4 separate regions of the Homo sapiens genome follow, and regions 1, 2 and 4 are each linked to region 3. The links are contacts of gene promoters, found by promoter capture Hi-C in blood cells and fetal thymus (Javierre and others, 2016). All regions are on one chromosome and are shown on one strand. The core of a region is centred on a gene start or on the middle of the fragment in contact, and the rest is flanking DNA. Distances in the headings are between cores, read along the strand shown. Region 1 has its middle 69 kb from the start of UPP2. Region 2 has its middle 7.8 kb from the start of UPP2. Region 3 holds the start of DAPL1 (death associated protein like 1). Region 4 has its middle 48 kb from the start of UPP2.

Region 1 (2,856 bases), core at 39-2,538, 760 kb after region 3:
GTGTGGAGCCTTACACTGTTCTCTGGGTTGCCAGAGCCAGGAGATGCTGCTTGACCGGGTCTGTGTTGCCCCAGAGCAAATCCTGAAGGAAGTAAAGGTGACCCTTGGTACTGTCCACTCTCAAAACATCTGGTTGTCTTTGGCTGCCTTCTCCAACTCCTAATGTTTTCAGGGCAATGCACTCTTCTCAACAGGTTGGAATAAGCAAATAAACTAATTTCATTGCATCCTTGTGAAACTGCATGTTTTAAGAGAACCTTGGGGTGAGATTTGTGCTAAAGTCCAGTGAATCTCTCCTAATGGTAGCATTTTAAACCTGAGGATAGGCTAATAACAGAAACTACTTGGAAAAGTGGGCTTGTGGAACCCCTTTAATTATAACGTGTTGGACAGCTGCCTGCAGGTAGATCTTGCATAGAACTAGTTAGTTATTGCTGCTATCTTGCCAAGGAATTGCCCTACATGGAGACCAACTGCTGGACCGCCCATTCCCCAGCCTCTTCTCCTTCTTCCCAGGAAAGAGGAGGAGTACTCACTGGCTGGCTGGCTGGCTGGCTCCCCTCAAGCTCCCTGGAAGATCCCTTCTGGAGAAGCTATTCTTCAGCATTCCCTCCTGGAACCACCCATCCCATCTGCAGTCATAAGAGCACCCCTGAGTCTCATCTCAGTTTTCCTCCCTAAGAGCCCAGCTAAATGCAGAAAGCAGGAGAGTAGGTGAGTGTGAGAGCATCTGTAAGCCTTTTTGCCGCCAGGGCTCTAGTGTGGCAGAGAGACCTCCCTGGGAGTGGAGCTATACCCTTCCCTATACAGGAACACAGCCTGCCCAGGCCAACCTCAGAAACTAAACACCTTTATTTCAAGAAAGAAACACCATGCTCAAAGGTCCTCCACCTTTGGGGCCCCCCTCCCATCTTCAGTATGCTTCAGGCCAGAATTTAGGTAGAGCTCTGAAGTTTGAGTTCTAATAGCTGGGTGTTGCCTACATTTGGTGTTCTAAATGACCCCTGGCCTCCTAGGGGTAATTATACAGCGGGATTTGAGGGTTTAAGGATGGGTAGGCCAATACTGGTAAATACCAGAAGGAATGTACAATTTCCCCCTAAAAGCCTGTTAGGGCCAGAGCCTGCAGAGATGAAAGAGGTCAGGAAAATGCCATGATATTACTTGCTTCCTACCTTAACATTTGGCCTCTCTGTGTCCCTGCACAAAGAAACCTGTGCTGCCTGTCAGATATGAAAAGCATTGCTATTTAGCAACTCAAAAACCATTAGAGGATTTACTTCAATAACCTGGAACTCATGGATTTCCAGAATCCAGCCTTTGTAGTGCTCTCTAATTTTATGATCTGTATCCTCACAAATCCTCCTCTGTCCCAGACATACTGTGTTCCAGCACAGTCTTTTGTTCACAATGCTCCCCGTAGCCCCAAATGCAGCCCTGAGTCTTCCTCTCCAGTGATCTCAGTCCCAGCCATGTTTCAGCACCTCCCCCATGTCCCACCTCCTAATGAAGCCCTCCTCTGCCACTGCCCTCACCACCCACAGCTCTTAATATTTCCCCTGTCCTATGTCATACACTTCCTTAGGTTGTTGCTTATATTTTCATGTAGGCAGCCTTTGTTCTGGAAGACCACAGGCCCCTCAGAGGTAAGCTCTTTGTCATATACCTGTTTGACTCCCCAGTTCAAACCCAGAACTTTTCACCACAACTTAGCCCATGGAGGGGGTCCCCTACATGGCATCCCTGAAAGATGTTTCCCCAGTCTCGCCATGAACATTTCTGGTGACAGGATGTGCATGACTTCATCCTGACCCACTCCAATATTGAATAGCTATAAGTTTTATTAAGTTCTTATTTCTACTAAGCCAAAATCAGCAATATCTGCTCCCAATGCTGCATTACAAGCAGCTGCTAGCTCTCAATTTTTGTCAGGATTCTCTTCTCCAGAGCAGAGATTCCCCAATTCTTTTGATCTTCATCTATCATAGTTTACAGACCCTGTACCATTCCGGCAGCTCTCTCCTGGGAAATTTCTGGTTTCCAGAGTCTCTCATGAAAGTTGCCACCCAGAGGGGAACACAATATTCAGCTGTATGAAGATGTGTGCTCTGAATGATGAACATACTCGAGGGAGGTATCTTGGTGATAATGGTGATGATCATGATCACGATCAAATTCTAACCACCTTTTAAAACACGAGGAAATTGCTAAAGAAAGAACGCTAGTATTTTACCCATCCAAGGGATTCCAGTTTTGAAGAAAACCAAAAATGTAGGAAATGCAGTCACCTGGATTGTGGCAGACATTGAATCTACTTTCTCAATGTTATTTCATAGCCTTCTGATGGTAGAGTTGTGGTTTGAGTGAGTTATACAAAGAAGTTCATGTATCTGATTAAACAGCTTTATGTGTTACCAACTGGAAAGATAACTATGGCCTTCCAAACCGACACTGGCTGCCTCTGCAGATCCTTGTTAGAATAGAGCTGGCTCGGAACCTCAGCGGTCCTGGAGATGTTCCAACAGCTCAGGTTTCCCAGATCTCTGCACTCCTCACCCATCCCTAAGCCTCCTCCAGGGCCTCAAAATCTCGGAAGTCCCTTCAAAGAGCCAAATTAAGAGAATGAAATCATCAAATGTATGAAGAAAACCACCAGGAAGAAACAATTTCCTTTTCTCCAAGTCCCTCAACATACCAAGCAATGCCTTACGTAGGTTTAGGGCTTGGGAGGCCAGATTATGCTTTAGTTCTTGAGGGCCTTTTATGTAGCCACAGGACCTTACGTGAGTGAATTCTCCTTCCTGGCCCTCACTTTACTTCCTACTCCAAAATCTATGAACCTAAAGTCTACAACTA
Region 2 (2,734 bases), core at 72-2,571, 700 kb after region 3:
ACATCTCTCTGCCACATTTTACCCTGCTAGTCATCAGGTTGTTGATTTAACTCATTTATAGGAAAAGAGGGCACAGTTAAACCATAGCAGCTGTGTGTTCTTTGAATGCTGATGAACAAGATGGCCCCATCAAAATGATGGCCCAGTCCTAAAGCTGATTTTAAAGTCATCTCATTGCCAAATTTTAAATTGACCCTTAAAATGTCTCTCACACACACTTTACGATTAACTCATCTCAGGCTCATCACTTCCCTATGATTTTACCCAAATAGCAGGGCCCAACTCACCACCCTGTCTGGAGCAATTTCTGTCTGCCCCTGAGCTGTCCCTGAAATATTAGTTAAAGGGTATGAGGGCTGAGAGGCTCTGTTTCTGCTGGTCTCCTAGCCTGGCTTCCTCACTGCCTGTGACTGGCCATTCTGGTGACTTCAAGCCTTGGAGATTAAAGCCCGTGTTAGTCTTTCAGCACCTGATGAAAGCGCTTAACCAGATCATGAAGTACATTGGGAAATCAGCCTCCACAGCTGGAGGAAGCTCTGTGAGTTTGACAAACCCCACACTGAAGGGAGAGGGGGTGATTTTCCTGGGAACTCAAGGAAGGTTCAGTCCTAACCTCTAACACACACCACAGATTATTACTGCTGCTGCCCAAGAGGGCTCAGATGGGAAAATAATGCTAATACATTGTGGAGGTGGTGAATTCTAGGCCCCCAAAGTCATGAAATTTCAAAGCTGACTGATTCTAATTTAGGTTTAGCTGAGTGAAAGAGAACAGTATGTTTTATGGAACTCTCTTAACATTACTAAGTGCAATATATTGAGTTAACCATTAATTTTTTTTCTAAGGAAGTAGAAAACCTTGGTTGTATAATCATGGTCACATTGACATTTCTGTAAATGCTTCACCTTAGGCATGTCATGACTTTTCAAAAATGTTATTCTTTTGAACACTTTACTTGGTTTTTTATTTAAAGTAACTAAACAGAAAATACTGTTGCTGTGGTGATTGTTAGGTCTTTGTGACTACTTCATGTTAGTTACTATAGTTAAAATTTTTAATTTTAAAACATTTAAACATAAAGGTACAGATATATTAGATGCCTGTGTAGTTACTACCCAAATTTAACAATTGTTACATTTTGCCATATTTAACACATTTTTTTTTAAAGGAAAGATTTCATTAAAGCCCTGTCACCTTCCTTACTTTAGATTACCTTCACTTTCTTCCTGAAGGTAATCACTGTCCTAAAGGTGAAGAGTTGGTAGGTATGCTTTTGGGGTATATGTTAAAACTCGTACTTATAAGTATGTACTTAATAACTACATGAGCAGGTTTAAGGTGTGTGCGTGTGTGTATGTATATGGTATATGTATATATATGGTAGATATGTATATATAAGAATCATATGTATATATAATATATGGCATATATATATAAATGTAACATATACTATATATATATTTTTAAAACTGGCTTTTTTATGTTGCTTCCAATTTTTTCCTGTAAACATCCTTATGGGTATCTTCTTGTGTATGCACATAAGAGTTTCTCTAATGTGTGGTAATAATATGTTTGCATGTATTCAGTTTTACTAGATAGTATTACATTGCCCTACCTAATAGTTTTACCAAGTTACACTTTTGTCAACAGTGTATAATAAACCCCATTTCCCCATATTGTTGCCAATAAATCTGATGTTGTTAGCCTTATAATTCTTTTGTTAATGTGATGACTGTAAAATGGTATCTCTTTGCTTTATTTCATTTCCCTGATTACTAGTGAGATTAAACGCCTTTATATATGTTTGGCAGTCTTTCAGCTTTCTTCTCCATTCTTTGCCCGTATTTTCTTTTGGGTATTTTATTTTTGTCTTACTAATTTGTAGGAGATTTTTATATATGATGAATACTGATCCTTTGTTGGTTATATATATTGTCCTTTACTTCCAAACTTTCCATGTCATTATGTTTTAGGAGTGTATCAGGTAAACAATACATCAATGGATTTTCAAAAAGTTGTCTTTTATCTATGTTTAATACATTTACAAATACTGTGATTCCTGATATATTTTTACTCCTTTCTTCTTATTTTTTTTCTAATTGTGTGTGTGTGTGTGTGTGTGTGTGTGTGTGTGTATGTTTCTTTTTACCGCCTTCCTACATTCTATAGAATGATTAAGTTCTCTGTGCTGGGCGCAATGGCTCACGCCTGTAATCCCAGCACTTTGGGAGGCTGAGGTGGACAGATTACTTGACGTCAGGAGTTTGAGACCAGCCTAGCCAATGTGGTGAAACCCCATTTCTACTAAAAATACAAGAATTAGCCAGTCATGATGGCGTGCACCTGTAGTCCCTACTTCTGGGGAGGCTGAGGCACGAGAATCACTTGAACCCGGGAGGCGGAGGTTGCAGTGAGCCGAGATCATGCCACTGCACTCCAGCCTGGGTGGCAAAGTGAGAAAAAAAAATGATTACATGATTCTTTGCAGACCCCATTTCCCTCTGTTATTTTGGAAGTTATATATTTTATTTCTATTCTTTCAATAGTTACCCTTACATTTCAACAAGCATACTTAATACAATTCAAAGCTAATTAATACCTATACTCTTCTGCATAACACAAGCAACTTGGAACAATTTAACTCTAATTACTACTTCACATTTTGGTATAAAGTAACTTAATCTATCTTGTTTTCATCCCTTCCTCCCTTTTAGTCTTATGGTTACCACTTTG
Region 3 (3,183 bases), core at 565-3,064:
ATCTTCTTCCCACTTTTAGGGATCTGTATTTTGCTTATAAAAATCAAGTGAAAAATTAACAGAATTTTGGCACTTGTTTTTGTTCCATAAATAAAATTTTGCACCACCACAAACAGATTCAGACTTAAAATTAGTGGCAAGACAGGCTGAAGGATGACACTTCTTTGTTCCCTTGTGCTCAGTGGGGAGGCAAAAGTCTGCCTTCATCTCCATTCTAATTATCCAAAACCTCTTATCTGTAGTGTCACAGTTCATAATAATTAATTGTCATGCCAGAGGCATTGTGACATGCTTGATGGAGTCATGGTGTGCTATGTACACAGAGTAATTAGCAATCATTAGTGGTGGGGACAGAAAGTTCCCGGTGGTTTCATTCGAACTTTCATTTGGTTAAGTTTATGTCTGTGTTCTTTGTGCATAAATGTAGTTTAGCAAAACAGGTTTCATCTTAGCCATTTTATGAAGGGTTGGAGTGGAAACAACATAATGAGAATGGAGTTCTTTTTTCTTTTGTCTTTGTCTATGTAAGGAGCCTGTCTTCCAATGATTTGCATATATACTTCCTGACTATTAGCTAGCATAATTAACTTTAAATATAGGTAATGTTAAATATTGCTAAATTTGATTACAAATATAAAACATCAGTAATCTACCAGAGGAGATCAGACCAAGATGTCTAGAGCTGGAAACTCAGAATGAGTAGTAAAATCTGGACTCTTTTTGGCCAGGCTACCCGCCGGAAAGCCACCAAAACAATGTTACATTTTGACTCTCTGTGAAGACAATACCCGCCATCACCCTCTGCAGCAAAGATTATTGAAATAACCTTGGCCTAGAGGTGCCAGAGAATTAGACAGTAAATATGTTTTTGTAAATGGAGAAAGGCAAGAACAAAGCAGTCAAGCTTTTGAGTTCTTTCTTCAGTAAAAAAGAAGGAAGGCAGTTGGAAGAATATAAAACTGACTAAAAATAGGCCTGTACACCTCAGCCAATCTATATGAACATATGGTTAAGTACAATAAAACTAATTTCCATATTCCAGAGAGTCAATATAGATAGCATAAATTAAAAAAAAAGACAACTATGGATGCTTTGCAAACACCTTGACAGCTACTTTTTCCAGTCAGCCTCCTCAAGTCCTGTGTCTTTATTTAAAAGTACTTCTCAGCTTGTTGACAGGTAAATACATCCCCAAAGCCTGAGGAGGGAGAAAGAAATGTGATTGTTGTCCTCTGTGCAGAAGCTGCTTTGCCTGGGTAGGAAGTCACATGATGCACAGGCATCTTGGGGAGACTGAGTCTTACAGCTGGAACCTCTAAAGAGAAAGGTTTCCATGGTAGCAAATCATCTTCCTGGTGTAGATGTGTCACTGCTAATCTACAGCCAGGGCCCCGTGAAAGGAATGCTGCCTCGAGGGAGGAAAGGTGCAACCTCTCTACCTATGCCTTTCCACAAGCCCCAAATCCATACACTGCCGTAGGTAATTAGGTTTTAACTCACTGGGGGTCTGACAAATCCCCGGGTGGATTTACATACAAGCTAAGAAGGATCAAAGACATAAGAGGAAGTCAGGCTGCATGGAGTTAAAGTCATACTGGGTAGACAGAGAAGCTTCCGTCTGTCGGGGTGCTCCATGGAAGGCATTGGTGGAAGAGGGGAGCAGCAACAGCCTGCAGGACTGAGGGCAGGTGGCAGCCTACCTGCAGGAGGATGTCCCCCTTTCCGAGGGGAGAGCAGGTCTTGCACTTCATTTGCCATAGCGTGTGCCAGTGCCAGTGCCAGTGCTGGTGCTCTGGAGGCTGAATGCCAGCTGTGGCTGCCCCACCACCGCACCGGCTTTATAAAGGCAGGGGGCAGGGCCCCTTAAGGGCATTGCTGAGCAGCAACAGGGCTTGTCATCCAGCTCTCTGGGAAACCTGCATCTCCTTGGCAAGTTTTCTCTTAGAAGAAGACTTTCTTCTTCCCTTCATCTGGGAAGGCAAGGTAGATGTCTGCAGGAGACAGGATATTCTTTTCTTTCTTTTTTTTCCACAGGAGGAAAGGGAGAGGATGGAGTTCAGTGGAATTCTTTTTCTCTCCAACCGTTGATCCCTCAAGTGTGTATAGTGCACCTGCAATGTAACAGGCTTTTGTCATATTCTGGCATGACAAGGGGGCCAAGACAAGCTCTTTGCTTCAGGACATCTGTAGTCTTTCTAAAGAGACAGGTATAGAGCAAAGTCCTGTGCCTCTGTCCCAGTTTTTGCAATTATAAGCATTTATACTAAGAAAATAATTGGAAATGTATACAGAGATTTCTGCGCAAGGATGGGAATCATATGCTTCTTTTCTTTTTAAAATATTGATGGGAATCAAGATAAACATCTCCAAATACAGAGGGATAGTTAAGATGAATCAAGAAATCACTGTGAGAGTATACCTTACAATCATGTTTTCAAATAATATTTAATGATGTAGAAATATTAACGATAAGATAGTGAAAAAGTAGACAAGAAACCAATCAATGCCAATTTTGCTAAAAAGGAAAAATACAACTTTAAGCTTAGCCATTATTGTAATTCCAGCGCCAATAAAAGTTTAGCATGTGGCAGATATTTATAAAAATTTCTTTGTTCTTCAGTACAGTTAAAAAACAACTTGAAGAGCAGTTGTCTGCTCTTCGAAAAACCCTGTTAAGAAAATAAAAACAAGCTACAAACTGGGAGAAAATATCTGTAAAATGCATTTCTGATGAAGTACCGACATTTAGAATGTATAAAGAATTCTTACAACTCAATAATAAGAAAGCAGACAACCCAATTAAAAATGGGCAAAAGATTCAAATAAAACATTACAAAGTAAGGATATTGACAACACATAATCACACAAAAAGATGCTCGACATCATTAGTCATTAGGGAAATGCAAATTAAAGCCACAATAAAATACCACTACATATGTATTAGGATGGCTCAAGACAAGAAAAAAAAGGAAAATACAAAATGCTGGTGAAGACGCAGAGCAACTGAAACTCTCATACATTGCTGGGGGAAACGCAAAAAAGCAAAGGTGTTCTGGAAGTCAGTTTGACAGTTTCTTATAAAATTCAACATACACTTACTATATATGACTAACAATCCAATTGCTAGGAATTCTCCCAAGAGTGATGAAAACATATGTACACACAAAACCCTATGTGCAAATG
Region 4 (2,725 bases), core at 109-2,608, 740 kb after region 3:
TGTATTATTTCACTTCTGTGAGGTACCTGCTATGATTTGAATGTCCCGTGCAAAATTCAGGTTGAAACTTAATCCCCAATGTAACAATATTGAGAGGCAGGGCCTTTAAGAGGTGATTGGGTGGTGAGGGCTCTGCCCTTATGAATGGAATAATCCATTCATGGACTAATGGATTAATGTGTTATCCTGAGAGGGAAACTGGTGGCTTTATAAAAGAGACCCGAACCAGCACATTAGCATGCTCAGCCCCTCACCATGTGATACCCTGCACCGCCTTGGGACTCAGCAGGGAGAGCCCCCACCAGCAATAAGGCTCTCACCAGATGCGACCCTTCAATGTTGGACTTTCCGGCCTCCAGAATTGTAAGAAATAAATTCCTATTCTTCATAAGTTACCCAGTTTGGGGTATTCTGTTATAAGCAACAGAAAATGAACTAAGACAGTATCTGAGTAGTCAAACTAGTAGAGACAGGAAGTAGAATAGTGGTTGTCAGGGGCTAGGGAGAGAGGGGAATGGGAAGTTTAGTCTAATGGGTACGGAGTTTCAGTTTTGCAAGATTAAAAGAAGTTGTGGAGATGGATGGTGGTGATAATTCACAACACTGTGAATTTATTTAATGCCACTGAATTGTATATACACTTAAAATGGTTAAAATAGCAAGTTTTATGTTTTGTGTATTTATTGTAGTTTAAAACATTTTTAATGGGAAAAAGATTTGTTAGCTCAACATCATGTAGAAGTCATTGACTATTTATGGGGATGAGAAGAACCAATTAAAATACTAGCAGCAGATGTTTCTGGAAAAGGCAGTGAAAAAGCTGCAAAACTAGTCTCCCAGCAAGCCCTTAGTACACACCAGATTCTCAAAAGTCACTGGCTTTGGGATGGTTTTCATGCTTTTTCTCAGCCTCACTCTTTCCCATGTCCCACTACAGAAATTTCAGCACAATCTCATATTATCAGAGGAAAATGACTTTCAATATGCAAAGCCCATGATTCTCCAAGGGAACATAGAGAAATACATTAATTAATTTCTCTCACTTCCTTCTTTCTCTACACATTGCAAGGATTTAAAAAAAAAAAAAAACCTCAAAATAACCAACAAAGCAAAAACATGAAAAAGTAAACCAGGCATTTATCAATTATTTATAAGCTATATTTTTCCCTCTTGCACTGTTTCTTTCTTTTTATTTATTCATTTATTTACTTTTCCTTGAGACAGGGTCTCACTCTGTCACCCAGGCTGGAGTGCAGTGGCACCATCTAAGCTCATTGCAACCTCCCCCAGGTTCAAACCATTCTCATGCCTCAGTAGCTGAAACTACAGACGTGTGCCACTGCGCCCAGCTAATTTTTGTATTTTTAGTAGAGACGGGGTTTCATCATGTTGGGCAGGCTGGTCTTGAACTCCTGACCTCAGGTAATCCACCCACCTCGGTCTCCTTTTGCACTTTTTCAAAAATGCAGACTTTTATTCAACACAGCTACTAATATTTTGCTGTAAGTCACCACAAAATTGTGAAAATGCTTGTGACAGATAGTTACATTGTCCCATCAAACCTGGTAAAGAAAACCCCTTCTTTGGAATAACACTGCATTAGCTTTTTCACTATTTACTTTTTCCAATTAAGAAGGCCTATAATCTGTCTATGCCCCATTCTCCACATTTGAATTGTAGAAGATAAATTCCTCACACTTCGAGTAAACTATGGTAATGTGTGAGACATCCTGTGGCTAAAATCCTTCAAATTCCCTGGAAAACCTAATCTATAGCTTCATAAGATTATTTATAAACATGTTAACAATTCTGCCAAAGGTCAAGTAGCTACTGTATGGATAATGATTTACCTAGAAATCAAAGCCCTATCCATCCTTCCATCCATCCATCCATTTGCTTGTTCTACGAATGGTTATAGAATGGTCCTGAATCCAGCCCTGTACATGGTACTGAGCTAGGCCTGTACAAGATACAAGCAATATGGTATGGGAGTTAGGCATTCAGACATTGGAGTCAGACTGCTTGAAATTGAACTCTGGATAACCATGATCACGAGTCTTTCCAAATTTCAGTTTCCTTATCTAATATACCTGTTCCTTGAGAATTTGGGGTGTACTAAATGAGAAAATGCATATAAAGTGCTTAGCACAGCAGCCAGCACATAACAGAGCACCCAGTGTATGTTAGGTATTATTATGAAAGTATGTAAAACCCAACCCTTGCCCTCCAGGTTTTGTTAGAAAGGCTACATCTTTCTTACTTATTCTTCTAAATCAGGACTTCCCAAAAGGCTATTGTTATTCACCACACACAGTTGACACCCAAGTCTTCTACCACCTTCTTTACACTTGGTGTGGGGGCTTCTACACACCTCCTGCTAGAAAGGTGCTCCAGCTTATCTACCGGTTCCAGGGGCACCTCCTTTCTTCTTTTCCCATCCTTTCCCTGTAATGAGGAGATTTGTGAGGTGATTGAGGAGCCCTGCTTTAAATCAGGGATTGGCATACTACAGCCCTCAGGCCAAATCTGACCCAATGCCTGTTTTTGTAAATAAAGTTTTATTGGAACACAGCCATGTTCATACTTGTATGTATTGTTTGTCGCTGTTTTCAGACTATAATGGCAGAGTTGAGTCTTGGGACTGAGACATTATGGCCCAACAAACCTCCAATGTTTACTATCTGGGACTTTACAGAAAACATTTACCAGTTCCTACTCTAGATAA

The links. The method cuts DNA at HindIII sites, captures the fragments that hold promoters and counts their contacts. A CHiCAGO score of 5 or more calls a contact.
Region 1: a fragment that was not itself captured here is called in contact with the fragment with the promoter of DAPL1 in region 3 in 2 of 17 cell types (endothelial precursors and megakaryocytes); the score reaches 6.6 in endothelial precursors.
Region 2: a contact is called between a fragment that was not itself captured here and the fragment with the promoter of DAPL1 in region 3, in 1 of 17 cell types (activated CD4 T cells). The highest score is 5.9, in activated CD4 T cells.
Region 4: a contact is called between a fragment that was not itself captured here and the fragment with the promoter of DAPL1 in region 3, in 1 of 17 cell types (non-activated CD4 T cells). The highest score is 6.3, in non-activated CD4 T cells.

The regions. Positions count from the first base shown.
Region 1 is chr2:158,031,210-158,034,065 of GRCh38, reverse strand. It overlaps a transcript of UPP2 not described here. Among named protein-coding and RNA genes, the nearest start is that of UPP2, 69 kb to the left of the region's middle. The HindIII fragment of the contact is 6,606 bases long and covers 1-2,856 here.
Region 2 is chr2:158,092,674-158,095,407 of GRCh38, reverse strand. It overlaps a transcript of UPP2 not described here. Among named protein-coding and RNA genes, the nearest start is that of UPP2, 7.8 kb to the left of the region's middle. The HindIII fragment of the contact is 3,550 bases long and covers 1-2,734 here.
Region 3 is chr2:158,793,948-158,797,130 of GRCh38, reverse strand. It overlaps DAPL1 (death associated protein like 1), which reads right to left and starts at 1,814. Exons shown (of 4, transcript NM_001017920.3): 1 at 1,701-1,814. The coding sequence starts at 1,758. The HindIII fragment of the contact is 930 bases long and covers 1,614-2,543 here.
Region 4 is chr2:158,052,750-158,055,474 of GRCh38, reverse strand. It overlaps a transcript of UPP2 not described here. Among named protein-coding and RNA genes, the nearest start is that of UPP2, 48 kb to the left of the region's middle. The HindIII fragment of the contact is 3,422 bases long and covers 1-2,725 here.